3 separate regions of the Homo sapiens genome follow, and all the other regions are linked to region 3. Evidence: promoter capture Hi-C in human tissues and cell types (Jung and others, 2019). All regions are on one chromosome and are shown on one strand. Each heading gives the region's core, a stretch centred on a gene start or on the middle of the fragment in contact. The rest is flanking DNA. Distances are from core to core; before and after follow the strand shown. Region 1 holds the start of FBXO27 (F-box protein 27). Region 2 holds the start of IFNL1 (interferon lambda 1). Region 3 holds the start of RASGRP4 (RAS guanyl releasing protein 4).

The links. Contacts are between HindIII fragments. The study calls those that stand out against the background at their distance.
Region 1: the fragment with the promoter of FBXO27 here is called in contact with the fragment with the promoter of RASGRP4 in region 3 in 5 of the 25 tissues and cell types used here (IMR-90 fibroblasts, lymphoblastoid cells, mesenchymal stem cells and 2 more).
Region 2: a contact is called between the fragment with the promoter of IFNL1 here and the fragment with the promoter of RASGRP4 in region 3, in 2 of the 25 tissues and cell types used here (adrenal gland and dorsolateral prefrontal cortex).

The regions. Positions count from the first base shown.
Region 1 is chr19:39,030,218-39,034,059 of GRCh38, reverse strand. It overlaps FBXO27 (F-box protein 27), which reads left to right and starts at 1,511. Exons shown (of 6, transcript NM_178820.5): 1 at 1,511-1,557; 2 at 1,807-2,196; 3 at 2,740-2,851; 4 at 2,936-3,031. The coding sequence starts at 1,833. RefSeq lists silencers at 1,733-1,802, 1,863-2,012, 2,213-2,292, 2,443-2,682, 2,532-2,714 and enhancers at 1,624-2,416, 2,823-2,932. The HindIII fragment of the contact is 13,585 bases long and covers 1-2,995 here.
Region 2 is chr19:39,294,597-39,298,141 of GRCh38, reverse strand. It overlaps IFNL1 (interferon lambda 1), which reads right to left and starts at 1,735. Exons shown (of 5, transcript NM_172140.2): 1 at 1,550-1,735; 2 at 1,260-1,337; 3 at 35-178. The coding sequence starts at 1,720. The HindIII fragment of the contact is 11,779 bases long and covers 1-2,838 here.
Region 3 is chr19:38,423,811-38,427,793 of GRCh38, reverse strand. RASGRP4 (RAS guanyl releasing protein 4) reads left to right here and starts at 1,575. Exons shown (of 17, transcript NM_170604.3): 1 at 1,575-1,725. The coding sequence starts at 1,703. RefSeq lists an enhancer at 233-747 and a silencer at 1,640-1,699. The HindIII fragment of the contact is 24,204 bases long and covers 1-3,983 here.

The sequences.
Region 1 (3,842 bases), core at 262-2,761, 610 kb before region 3:
ATGGTGGCATGCGCCTGTAATCCCAGCTACTCGGGAGGCTGAGGCAGGAGAATCGCTTGAACCCATGAGGCGGAGGTTGCAGTGAGACGAGATTGCATCACTGCCCTCCAGCCTGGGCGACAGAGCGAGACTCTGTCTCAAAAAAATAATAAAATGTTTTATTTGGGAAGCAAGAATTGACATTCGAGGCATCCACACAGACCAGGCGGTCTTCAGAACTTTCAAAGAACAAAGAGGTTAGAGGTTTTTATAAGAAACAGAAATGTTAGGTATTGTTTTGCAAGAAAGTTCATTGACACTAGCAACGTTCTGGGGAGCTGGCAAGTTCTGACTGGTAAGTGACAGCAGAGGGAAAAACTAGTCTTAGAGTCACGGCAGGTTTTTTCAGTACCAGTTAGACTGCTTCCAGGTTACAACAGGCAGTTTTAACAGCCAGGCTTGCAGAGAATCACTTTCTTGGAGCAATGGTATCTGCCCTAAGTGTTTTCCCCCCGGCCTCTCAACTTTGTTTTAGTTGGATATGACAAGAAGGATCCAATTCACATGATCAACTTTCACAATTTTTTTTTTCTGTTTGTTTTTTGAGACGGAGTCTCACTCACTCTTTTGCACAGGCTGGAGTGCAGTGGTGCAATCTCTGCTCACTGCAACCTCCCCCTCCCGGATTCAAGCAATTCTCCTGCCTAAGCCTCCAAATTAGCTGGGATTACAGGCGCGTGCTACCACGCCCAGCTAATTTTTGTATTTTTAGTAGAGACGGGGTTTCACCATGTTGGCCAGGCTGGTCTCGAACTTCTGACCTCAAGCGATCCGCCTGCCTTGGCCTCCCAAAGTGCTGGGATTACGGGCATGAGTCACCGCACCCAGCCACAATTGTATTTTTATTGGACAGAGCTGATCTAGAGGTTAAAATGAGGAATTCCGGAGCTAGGCTGGCTGGATTCAAATCCCTACTAGCTGGTGATCATAGACAAGCCACTTGGCCTCTGCTGGTCTCAGTTTTTTCACCTGTGAAGTAAAGGGCATAACAGCACCTACTTCATGGGGTTGCCACCCTGGCTGGCAGTAAAACCGTCCATAAAAGTTGGCTGGTGTTACTATTGGTTGCATTAATTTTTAGCAGCCGGAGCCTGTTTTCTCCTGTGAAATGAAGATAACCACGCCCGACCTTAAAGGTGATGGAAATTTTTTAACACGTTAACGGATACGAGGCCTCCCACTCAGAAGCCTGACCAAAATAACAATGGTTGCTCAGAGCCAGACGTCTCATTGCTACTAACGAATTAGGGACACTTCAAGGGGCCGGCTGGAGGGGACGGCTGTGAGCAGCAGGCCTTGGCTCCTGGCTGCACCTGGCCCCGTCGCGGGAAGCAGGTTGGGTTTGGAGAGCGGGAGGGAGCAGGCGGGAGGGGCTGGCGAGTAAGAAAGAGGATGCAGGGGTGGGTGAAGCTGGCTAGTAAGAGGGGAGGGGCCGGCGAGTAAAAAGGACGCAGAGGGGCGTGGGGAGCTTGCGGCACAGCTAGGGCATCCCGGCGAGGAGCGCCGCCAGGCCCCGGGGTAGGACTTGGGGTGCGGTGTCGGTGCGGCCGCCGAGGGGGGCTGATTGCATGCAATTCGGGGCATACACACAGACCGCGGGGTCTCCGGGATATCGGGGCTATCAAGGACGGGCTGGGGGATGGGGACTTGGGGACGGGGCCCAGGGATGGTGAAGACGGGGGTGCGGCTGGCAGAATCAGGGCAGGCAGAGGCTGCGCGCCGCGGAGGCTGCTGGTCCCTGACGCCTTGACCCTTCCTCTCCCGCAGCCACAGCCGGGCCTGGCGGGGGGACCATGGGCGCCTCGGTCTCCAGGGGCCGGGCCGCCCGGGTCCCCGCGCCGGAGCCGGAACCCGAAGAGGCGCTGGACCTGAGCCAACTACCCCCAGAGCTGCTTCTGGTGGTGCTGAGCCACGTCCCCCCGCGCACGCTGCTCGGGCGCTGCCGCCAAGTGTGCCGGGGCTGGCGAGCCCTGGTGGACGGCCAGGCCCTGTGGCTGCTGATCCTGGCCCGCGACCACGGCGCCACCGGCCGCGCGCTGCTGCACCTCGCCCGCAGCTGCCAGTCTCCCGCCCGTAACGCCAGGCCTTGCCCCCTGGGCCGCTTCTGCGCGCGCAGACCCATCGGACGCAACCTTATTCGCAACCCCTGCGGCCAAGGTGGGATCTCGGAAGAGGAAGTCCAGGATGCTGGGCCACAGTGGGAGCGGTAGCGGGGCCGGAGGGGCGGGGCCGCACTGGGACCGGTACTAGGGGCCGCAGGGGCAGGGCCGCAGTGGGACCGGTGGGAGGAGTCGGAGAGGCGGGGCAGCATTGGGAGCCGGTGTGAGGTGCCGGAGGGGCGGGGCAGCATTGGGAGCCGGTGGGAGGTGTCGGAGGGACGAGGCAGCATTGGCACGCAGGGTGCAGGGCTGACTGGGCAGGGCTTCACCGTTTGCCTGTGGGAGGGGTGGGAGTGGGGCAGTTCTGGGAGCCCGAGAGAGGGGTTGGAGGGGCAGGGCTTTGCTGCAAATCAGTGAGAAGGGCCAGAGGAGCGGGGCTTTGCCCTGAGCTGGTGGGAGGGGAAGGGGGCGGGGCCTCGGTGGGAAGGGTCAGGTGAGTGAGCTGCACTGTGAGCACGTGGGAGGGGCTAGGGGCGGGGTCTCACTAGGAACCAACAGGCGGGCGACTGGAACTTGGGCACAAGCCTTTTTTATTTCACAGAAGGCCTCCGAAAGTGGATGGTGCAACACGGTGGGGACGGCTGGGTGGTGGAGGAAAACAGGACAACCGTGCCTGGGGCCCCTTCTCAGACGTGCTTCGTGACTTCATTCAGGTGAATGCCCCTGCTATCCAAAGGTCCGGCCCCTTGTTGAGAAAGGCCTGCCTGTTCTCATTACCCTGTCTCCTGCATTCCCAGCTGGTGTTGCAAGAAGCAGGTCTTGGACCTAGAGGAGGAGGGTCTGTGGCCAGAACTGCTGGATAGTGGCAGGATTGAGATTTGTGTCTCTGACTGGTGAGTGTGACGATTAAAATAGCCCCTTGCTAAGCACTGACTGCATGTGACATGGCCTTTTTATGGGTGACTTAATTTAGGCCTCCTAACCCCTCCTTACAGATAAAAAATCTGAAGTTCAGGCCAGCCATGGTGGCTCACACCTATAATCCCAGCACTTTGGGGGGTCGAGGCAGGCAGATCACTTGAGGTCAGGAGTTCGAGACCAGCCCAACCAGCATGGCAAAACCTCGTCTCTACTAAAAATACAAAAAAAAAATTAGCCGGGCCTGGTAGTGCACACCTGTAGTCCCACATACTTGGGAGGCTGAGGCAGGAGAATCACTTGAACCCAGGAGGTGGAGGTTGTACCACTACACTCCAGCCTGGACGACAGAGTGAGACTCAGTCCTGGAAAAAAAAAAGAAAGAAAAGAAACTGAAGTTCAGGGAGGTGAAGTGAAAAACACACTCACAGTTCTAGTAATTAGCAGAGTACACACTTTCTGCTCATGCCCAAAAGGATGTGGATTGGAAGACAGAAGATGAGATCCAGTACAGAGACCTTTGGCCCAGCTCAGTCTTGTCTGTGAATGAATGAGATGCTCCTTGCCTTAGGAGGAGAAAACAGCATAGTTAGCCAAGAGCTTAGGTTCTGGAGCCAGACCTCCCAGATTCAAACCCTAGCTCTGTGGCTTTGTAGCCTTGGGCAAGTCACAGCATACCTCTGTTTCCCCTGTTTACAAGATAGGGCTCTTGCAATGACAATTATTATATGGCAAACACATAGCAAGTACTTTATGTGAGCACCTTTTTTTGAACCTTGATCCTGT
Region 2 (3,545 bases), core at 486-2,985, 870 kb before region 3:
CACAGACCTGGGTGCCCGGGCCCCAAGGACTCACACAGGCCTGGAGCTGGGAGAGGATGTGGTGCAGGGTGTGAAGGGGCTGGTCTAGGACGTCCTCCAGGGCTGGGCCAGCAGCGGCCTCCAGGACCTTCAGCGTCAGGGCCAGCTCAGCCTCCAAGGCCACAGGGCGCTCCCTCACCTGAGGAGAGGTGAGAAAGAGCAGGTGAGGGAGAACAGGCAAGAAGACCCAGTTAGTGGGGACAGGTAGGCAGTCCTGGGGAAGGTCGGTGACACAGTGCATGTGGTGGGGACAGGTGAGGGGTCTGGGGAGAAGGAGACAGGAGGGGGAAGACATGAGGAAGGATACAGGTGAGGCAGGATGGTCAAGGAGGCAGGTGAGGGGATAAGTGAAATGGAGACAAATGAAAGGGGACTTACGGGGGTCACAGAAGTTCTCTGGGGCGGGGTGGGGACGGGTGAGGAGAAAGCAGGTTGGGGGCACAGTAAGAGAGGGACAGTTGCATGCACAGAGAAGAAGGGTAGGGCTGGGTGTGGTGGCTCACGCCTGTAATCCCAGCACTTTGGGAGGCCGAGGCGGGTGGATCACCTGAGGTCAGGATTTCGAGACCAAGCCTGGCCAACATAGTGAAACCCCGTCTCTGCTAAAAATACAAAAATTAGCTGGGCATCATGGCACATGCCTGTAATCCCAGCTACTCGGGAGGCTGAGGCAGGATAATTGCTTGAACCCGGGAGGCAGAGGTTGCAGTGAACCGAGATCATGCCACTGCACTCCAGCCTGGGCCATAGAGCAAGACTCTGTCTCAAAAAAAAAAAAAAAAAAAAAAAAAAGAGAAGGGTGGATGAGGGGGGAGCATGAGCTGGATGAATGTCAGTGAGAGATAATGAGGGACAGGTGACAGAGGCAGGTGAGAGGGAGAGGGGGTCAGTGTTGGGAACAGACAGGGAGAAGTGGAGCAGGACGAAAGGCACAGGTGGGCGACAGACTGGAGACATTTGGGAGAGAAATGAAGAGTGAGAGTGGAAGTGACAGGGACAGGTGAGCGAGCTAGGGAAGTGGGGCCGATGGGAGATGATAAAAGGGACCCAGGGGAAGGACAGAGTCAAGAGAGCAGTTTTGAAGTGGCAGGGGCACAGGACAGGTGAGGAGAGGTCCAAGAGAGTGAAGGACAAGGGAAACAAAGAAGGCTAAGGGGCCACTTAAGAAGAGGGGGGAGAGGGTCAAGGGAAGGGTGAAGGGGGCCTGACTTTCAGCTCACCTGGAGAAGCCTCAGGTCCCAATTCCCGGGGAAGACAGGAGAGCTGCAACTCCAGTTTTTCAGCTTGAGTGACTCTTCCTAGAGAGCAAGGGCAGGGGTTAGCCCACAGCAGGATGGCTGGAAGCTAGCTCATAGCAGCAAGGATGAAGTTGGCCTGACAGCATGGGTTTAACCCAGTGCAGAAAGGATAGAGGTTTGCCATAGTTGGAAGGCTAGAGGCTAGCCCACAGTAGAAGGGCAGTAATTGGGACACCCGTAGAAGTGGTTCATCCACAGCAACAGGAACTCACCAAGGCGTCCCTGGCCTTCTTGAAGCTCGCTAGCTCCTGTGGTGACAGAGATTTGAACCTGCCAATGTGGCAGCCCTTCCCAGTTGTGGTGGGCTTGGAAGTGGGGACAGGGCCTGCCACGGCCAAGCCTAGCACCAAAGTCACCAGCACCACGGTCCAAGCTGCAGCCATGGCTAAATCGCAACTGCTTCCCCAGCGGCATGGCTCTGCTTTTTAGCCACGCAAAATGGGCAATCCAAGATGATGTGTGTAAAGTGAAAAGGTAATTGGAAATGAGAATTTCCACTTTGACTTAAGAGGCATGAGTGGGCGGGGCCCGTCTGGGAGCCTGATGAGGGAACAGGTGTGGGCAGGGCCAAGTGAGCTGGGAGCTGCATCAAGAAGGAAAGAGAAACTGAAATCCTTAGAACTCCCTGGGCAGCTTTCAGCCAACTGGCCTCAGGGAGTCCCTGACGGAGGCTGAGATTAGGGATAAGGCTACCTGAGTGGCAGAGAGGAAGCTTCTTTTTTATTCTAAATTAGCCAGGTGTGGTGGCATGCGCCTGTGGTCTCAGCTACTCAGGAGGCCGAGGCATGAGAATCACTTGAACCCGGGAGGCGGAGGTTGCAGTGAGCCAAGATCGTGCCACTGCACTCCAGCCTGGGTGATGGAGTGAGATCCTGTTTCAAAAAAAAAAAAGCTTGTTTTTTATTTTATTGTTATTATTATTTTTTGAGACGTAGTTTTGCTCTTGTTGCCCAGGCTGGAGTGCAATGGTGCAATCTTGGCTCACTGCAACTTCTGCCTCCCGAGTTGAAGCGATTCTCCTGCCTCAGCCTCCTAAGTAGTTGGGATTACAGGTGCATGCCATCACGCCTGGCTAGTTTTTGTATTTTTAGTAGAGACTGGGTTTTACTATGTTGGTCACGCTGGCTTCGAACTCCTGACTTCAGATGATCTGCCTGCCTTGGCCTCCCAAAGTGCTGGGATTACAGGCGTGAGCCACCACCTTACTTTATTATTTATTTATTTATTTTTGTAGAGATAGGGGTCTCACTATGTTGCCCAGGCCAGTCTTGAACTCCTGGCCTTAAGCCATCCTCCTGCTTCAGCCTCGCAAAGTGCTAGTATTAAAGGCATGAGCCACTGCTCCTGGCCAAGAAGGAGCTTCTGCCATTGGTTTAAGAATGTCCCATTAACTAATTTCAGTTCATGCTCCTAATGTTTCTCTGAGTAGTTATTTTTATAATTGTGATGGTTAATTTTAGGTGTCACCTTGACTGGTTAAGTTTATCAGATAGCTGGTGATGCGTTAATTCTGGGTATGACTCTGGGGTGTTTCCAGAAGAGATTGGCATTTGAATCAATGGACTGAGTAAGGAAGACCCGTTGTTACCCAATGTGGTGGGCACCATCCAATTGGCCGAGGGCCTGAATAGAACAAAAAGGCAGAGGAAAGGAGAATTTGCTCTCTCTTATGAGCTGGGACACCCTGCACCTGCCCTTAAACATCAGAACTCCAGGCTCTTTGGTCTTTGAATGCTGGGATGTGCAGCTGGGCATGGTGGCTCACGCCTGTAATCCCAGCAGTTTGGGAGGCTGAGGCAGGTGAATCACTTGAGGTCAGGAGTTCGAGACCAGCCTGGCCAACATGGTGAAACCCCATCTCTACTAAAAATATAAAAATCAGCCAGGCGTGGTGGCACAGGCCTGTAGTCCCAGCTACTTGGGAGGCTGAGGCAGGAGTATCGCTTGAACCCTGGAGGCGGAGGCTGCAGTGAGCTGAGATCATGTCACTGCACTCCAGCCTGGTCAACAGAGTGAGACTCCATCTCAGAAAAAAAAAAAATGCTGGGACTTGCACTAGCTACCCCCTAAGTCCTGAGGCTTTTATTCTGGAACTGAGCTGCACTACAAGCTTCCCTGGTTCTCCAGCTTGCAGATGGCCTGTTGTGGAACTTCTTAGCCTCCCTAATTGTCTGAGCCAATTCCCCTAATAAATCCCCTCCTATCTCT
Region 3 (3,983 bases), core at 326-2,825:
AGTGGGGATCTGTGGGAATTCGTGCTGGGAAGAAAGACAGGGGGCTTGTGGAGGGTGAGAATGTTCTGTGTCTGGATTTGTATGAATGTCACACAGGTTTGCTCAGTTGGTGACATTTCATCAACCTAAATACTTAATGATTCGTGATCTTTTTTGTACTTCAATTTAAAAAAAAGTGTCGAGCATGACACATTTAGGTAAAAAGAAAAAAATGCACACTCAAAAGAAAAGTCTGTTTCTAGGAGCACATGTTTATATGATGTGCTTAAACGCACAGACAGCAGTTTGGACGAAACTCGACAACGTGTCATATTGGTCACACCCTGCTTAAGAAAGGCAGGGGATGGGGAGGGGCTTCCCCAAGGCTTTACCTCCATCTCTAATGTTTTTTGATGTGTGTGTGTGTTTTTTTTTTTTGTTTTTTGTTTTTTGAGACAGGGTCTGGCTCTGCCACGCAGACTGAAGTGCAGTGGCACCATCATGGTTCACTGCAGCCTCGACCTCCTTGGGCTCAAGCAATCTTCTAGCCTCAGCCTCCTGAGTAGCTGGGACTACAAGTGTGCATCACTACGCTCAGCTAACTTTTTTTTTTTGAGACAGAGTTTCGCTCCTGTTGCCCAGGCTGGAGTGCAATGGCGCGATCTCGGCTCACGGCAACCTCCGCCTCCTGGGTTCAAGCAATTCTCCTGCCTCAGCCTGCCGAGTAGCTGGGATTACAGGCATGTGCCACAACGCCTGGCTAATTTTGTATTTTTAGTAGAGACGGGGTTTCTCCATGTTGCTCAGGCTGGTCTTAAACTCCCAACCTCAGGTGATCCGCCCACCTCGGCCTCCCAAAGTGCTGGGATTGCAGGAGTGAGCCACCACACCGGCCTAACGTTTTACATTTTTTGTAGAGACGGGGTTTTGTCACGTTGTTCAAGCTGGTCTCAAACTCTTAGACTCAAGCGATCCGCCTGCCTTGGCCTCCCAAAGTGCTGGATGACAGGCGTGAGCCCCTGTGAGCCCCCGTGCCTGGTCCGGTATGTAATTTTTTTTAAGGTAACAGTGGATTGTGTGAGGATTAAATGAGTTAATATTTTTAAAGTCCTTACAGCAGTGTGTGGTACACAGTAGGTGCTATGTGGAGGTTTGTTACAATAAAGTCAGAAAGTGAAAATGTTTTCCAGGGTACAAATGGTATCACTTAAACTAGGAATAAGAGACGCCTATGAAGAAATATACAAAATACTATGTCTTGTGAGTTTCCATTCAAACCTTCATGAATTATATATATGAATATGTCCTTCTAGACAGACAGACTTATCTTTTTGAGTGAGTGTGTGTGTTTTTACATAAATATCAGTCATGCTTTAAAAAGAAAAGCCCCTTCTTTTATTGAAGTATGACAGTGACGGGTCTCGACACCGAAAGATGGGGGAGATAGAGAGCCCGCCGGGGAGCTTGAGGGTGGGAGAGCCAGCGATGCCGGAAACCTCAGCAGAAGGGATCCCCGTGTGGGGGAGGGGGGCCTTCGGTCTCTCCCCAGCCTCTTCCTTCCCCCTGGCCTGAGGGTGGGTGGGGAGGGGCAGTTCCTCTTTCCTTCCCAAGCACCGAGGAGGCCCCAGCTCCCTAGGGGCTGAGAAGCTGGAGTCCTGGGCAAGGGGAGGAGCTGAGCCCTACTCTTGCAAGACCCCCGGCCTCCTCACCCCACGCGGGAAGCATGAACAGAAAAGACAGTAAGAGGTGAGAGGACCCTCCCCAGGGAGCCCGGCAGCACCCTGAGGCCTCCCTCTGCATGGGAGGGCTGGGGAGATCACTCGCCAGGGTGGCAGGATTCCTGACTTCTTTGGGATCAGGCGCAGGGGGGCCAGGTGGATGCTTCAGGGAGTCTGGAGCCAGCTACGGCTGCAGTCGCTTGTATGTGGCATCTGTACCGTGTTGTCCCTGGAGTTTGAGCTGCTCCGTGCCCCTTTTCCACTCCTCATCACCCCACCTCCATCCCTGGCCTGGGCTGAGTGTCTCTGCCCTCCCTGGGGGCTTCCTGGTTCCCCATCCCCGTGGACTGGAAACTCCAGGCTCCTGCAGGGCCTGGCCCAGGAGAGGGGAGTGTGGCACAGGGCAAGGCGACTCCCCTGCCTCTTAAACCACTCCTGGCTGTTCCAGACCCCTACAGGGGGCTGCAGGACAGGGCCTAGTGGCTGGCTGTGCGGCCGGTTCTGGAATGGGCTTCATCTCCTGGGCAAGCTGGCCCTTCTGTCCCCACAGAGGCAGATGGTGGGTGGCTCCCTAGCCTGGGTAACTCCTCCTGCCACCCCCAGCACCACTCTGATGGGCAAAGGGCTTTCCTCCCCACCCAGCAGTTTAGTGGTAGACTCCTGGCTGCCTAATTTCCTAGCTGTGTGACCTTAGGTAAGTCACTTAACTGCTCTGTGTCTCGGGTTTTTCTTCTGTCAGTAGAACAATCATATCCTCTACCTCGGAGAGGCCTGTAAGTACTCAATGAGACACTCTAGACCAGTGGTTCTCAAACTGGAGCGAGCCTCAGAACTGTCTGGAGGGCTTGTAAAATACAGGTTGCTGGGCTTACCTTTAAAGTGTTTGGTTTTTTTTTTTTTGTTTTTTTTTTTTGAGACGGAGTCTCGCTCTGCCGCCAGGCTGGAGTGCAGTGGCACAATCTTGGCTCACTGCAACCTCTGCCTCCCGGGTTCAAGCGATCATCCTGCCTCAGCCTCCCAAGTAGCTGGGACTACAGGTGTGCACCACCACACCCAGCTACTTTTTTGTATTTTTAGTAGAGATGGGGTTTCACCATGTTGGGCAGGATGGTCTCGATCTCTTGACCTCGTGATCCACCCACCTCGGCCTCCCAAAGTGCTGGGATTAGAGGCATGAGCCACCACCCTTAGCCTTAAAGTGTTTGATTTTGTAGGTCTGGGTTGGGACCTGAGAATCTGTATTGATATCCAGTTCCCAGGTGATGCTTTTGGTACTAGCTGGGTGCCCACACTTAGGGAAATGCTGACTTAGTTAGAATGCTCCTTCCTTAGCCTAGGACATATATAATACTTTAAAATGTCCCTTCTAGTAACGATGGCTCATGCCTCTAATCCCAGCACTTTGGGAGGATAAGACAAGGAGAACTTGAAGCCAGGAGTTCTAGACCAGCCTGAGAAATATAGTGAGACCCCCCCCCCCATTGACACACACCCAAACACACACACAAAATTAGCTGGGTATGGTCGTGCACACCTGTAGTCCCAGCTACCTGGGAGACTAAGGCAGGAGGATCACTCGAGTCCAGGAGTTCAAGGTTACAATGAGCTTTGATTGCACAACTGTGCTCCAGCCTGGGAGACAGAGCAAGACCCTGTCTGAAAAAGGGTAGAGGTGGGAGCCTGGCGTGATGGCTCACACCTGTAATCCCAGCACTTTCAGAGGCAAAGGTGGGAGGATCAGTTGGGCCCAGGAGTTTGAAACCAGCCTGGCCAACATGGTGAAACCCCATTTCTACTAAAAATACAAAAATTAGCTCGGCGTGGTGGCACGTGCCTGTAGTCCCAACTACTTGGGAGGCTGAGGCAGGAGAATTGCTTGAACCCGGGAGGTGGAGGTTGCAGTGAGCTGAGATCGCACCACTGCACTCCAGCCTGGGTGACAGAGTGAGACCCTGTCTCCAAAAAAAGAAAGAAAGAAAGAAAAAAGAAATCCCTGGAGAAGGTCCAAGGACTATCCTCATTTTTCCTTCGAGGAAATTGAGCCCCAGAGAAATTAAGTGACTAACACGAAGTCACAACAGCTGGCAAAAATTTCTGGATTCTACTTTCGTCTGAAGCTTGGATTCAGCAGCCTCCCTGCTCCCACCATCCTTGTCTCTCCATTACCCTCTTCCCCTATCAGGAACAGCAGCCTCTGGGAGGCACCAGGCAGAGGGAGAATTATTATTACTATTATTACTATTATTATTATTATTATTTTGAGACTAAGACTCGCTCTGTTGCCCA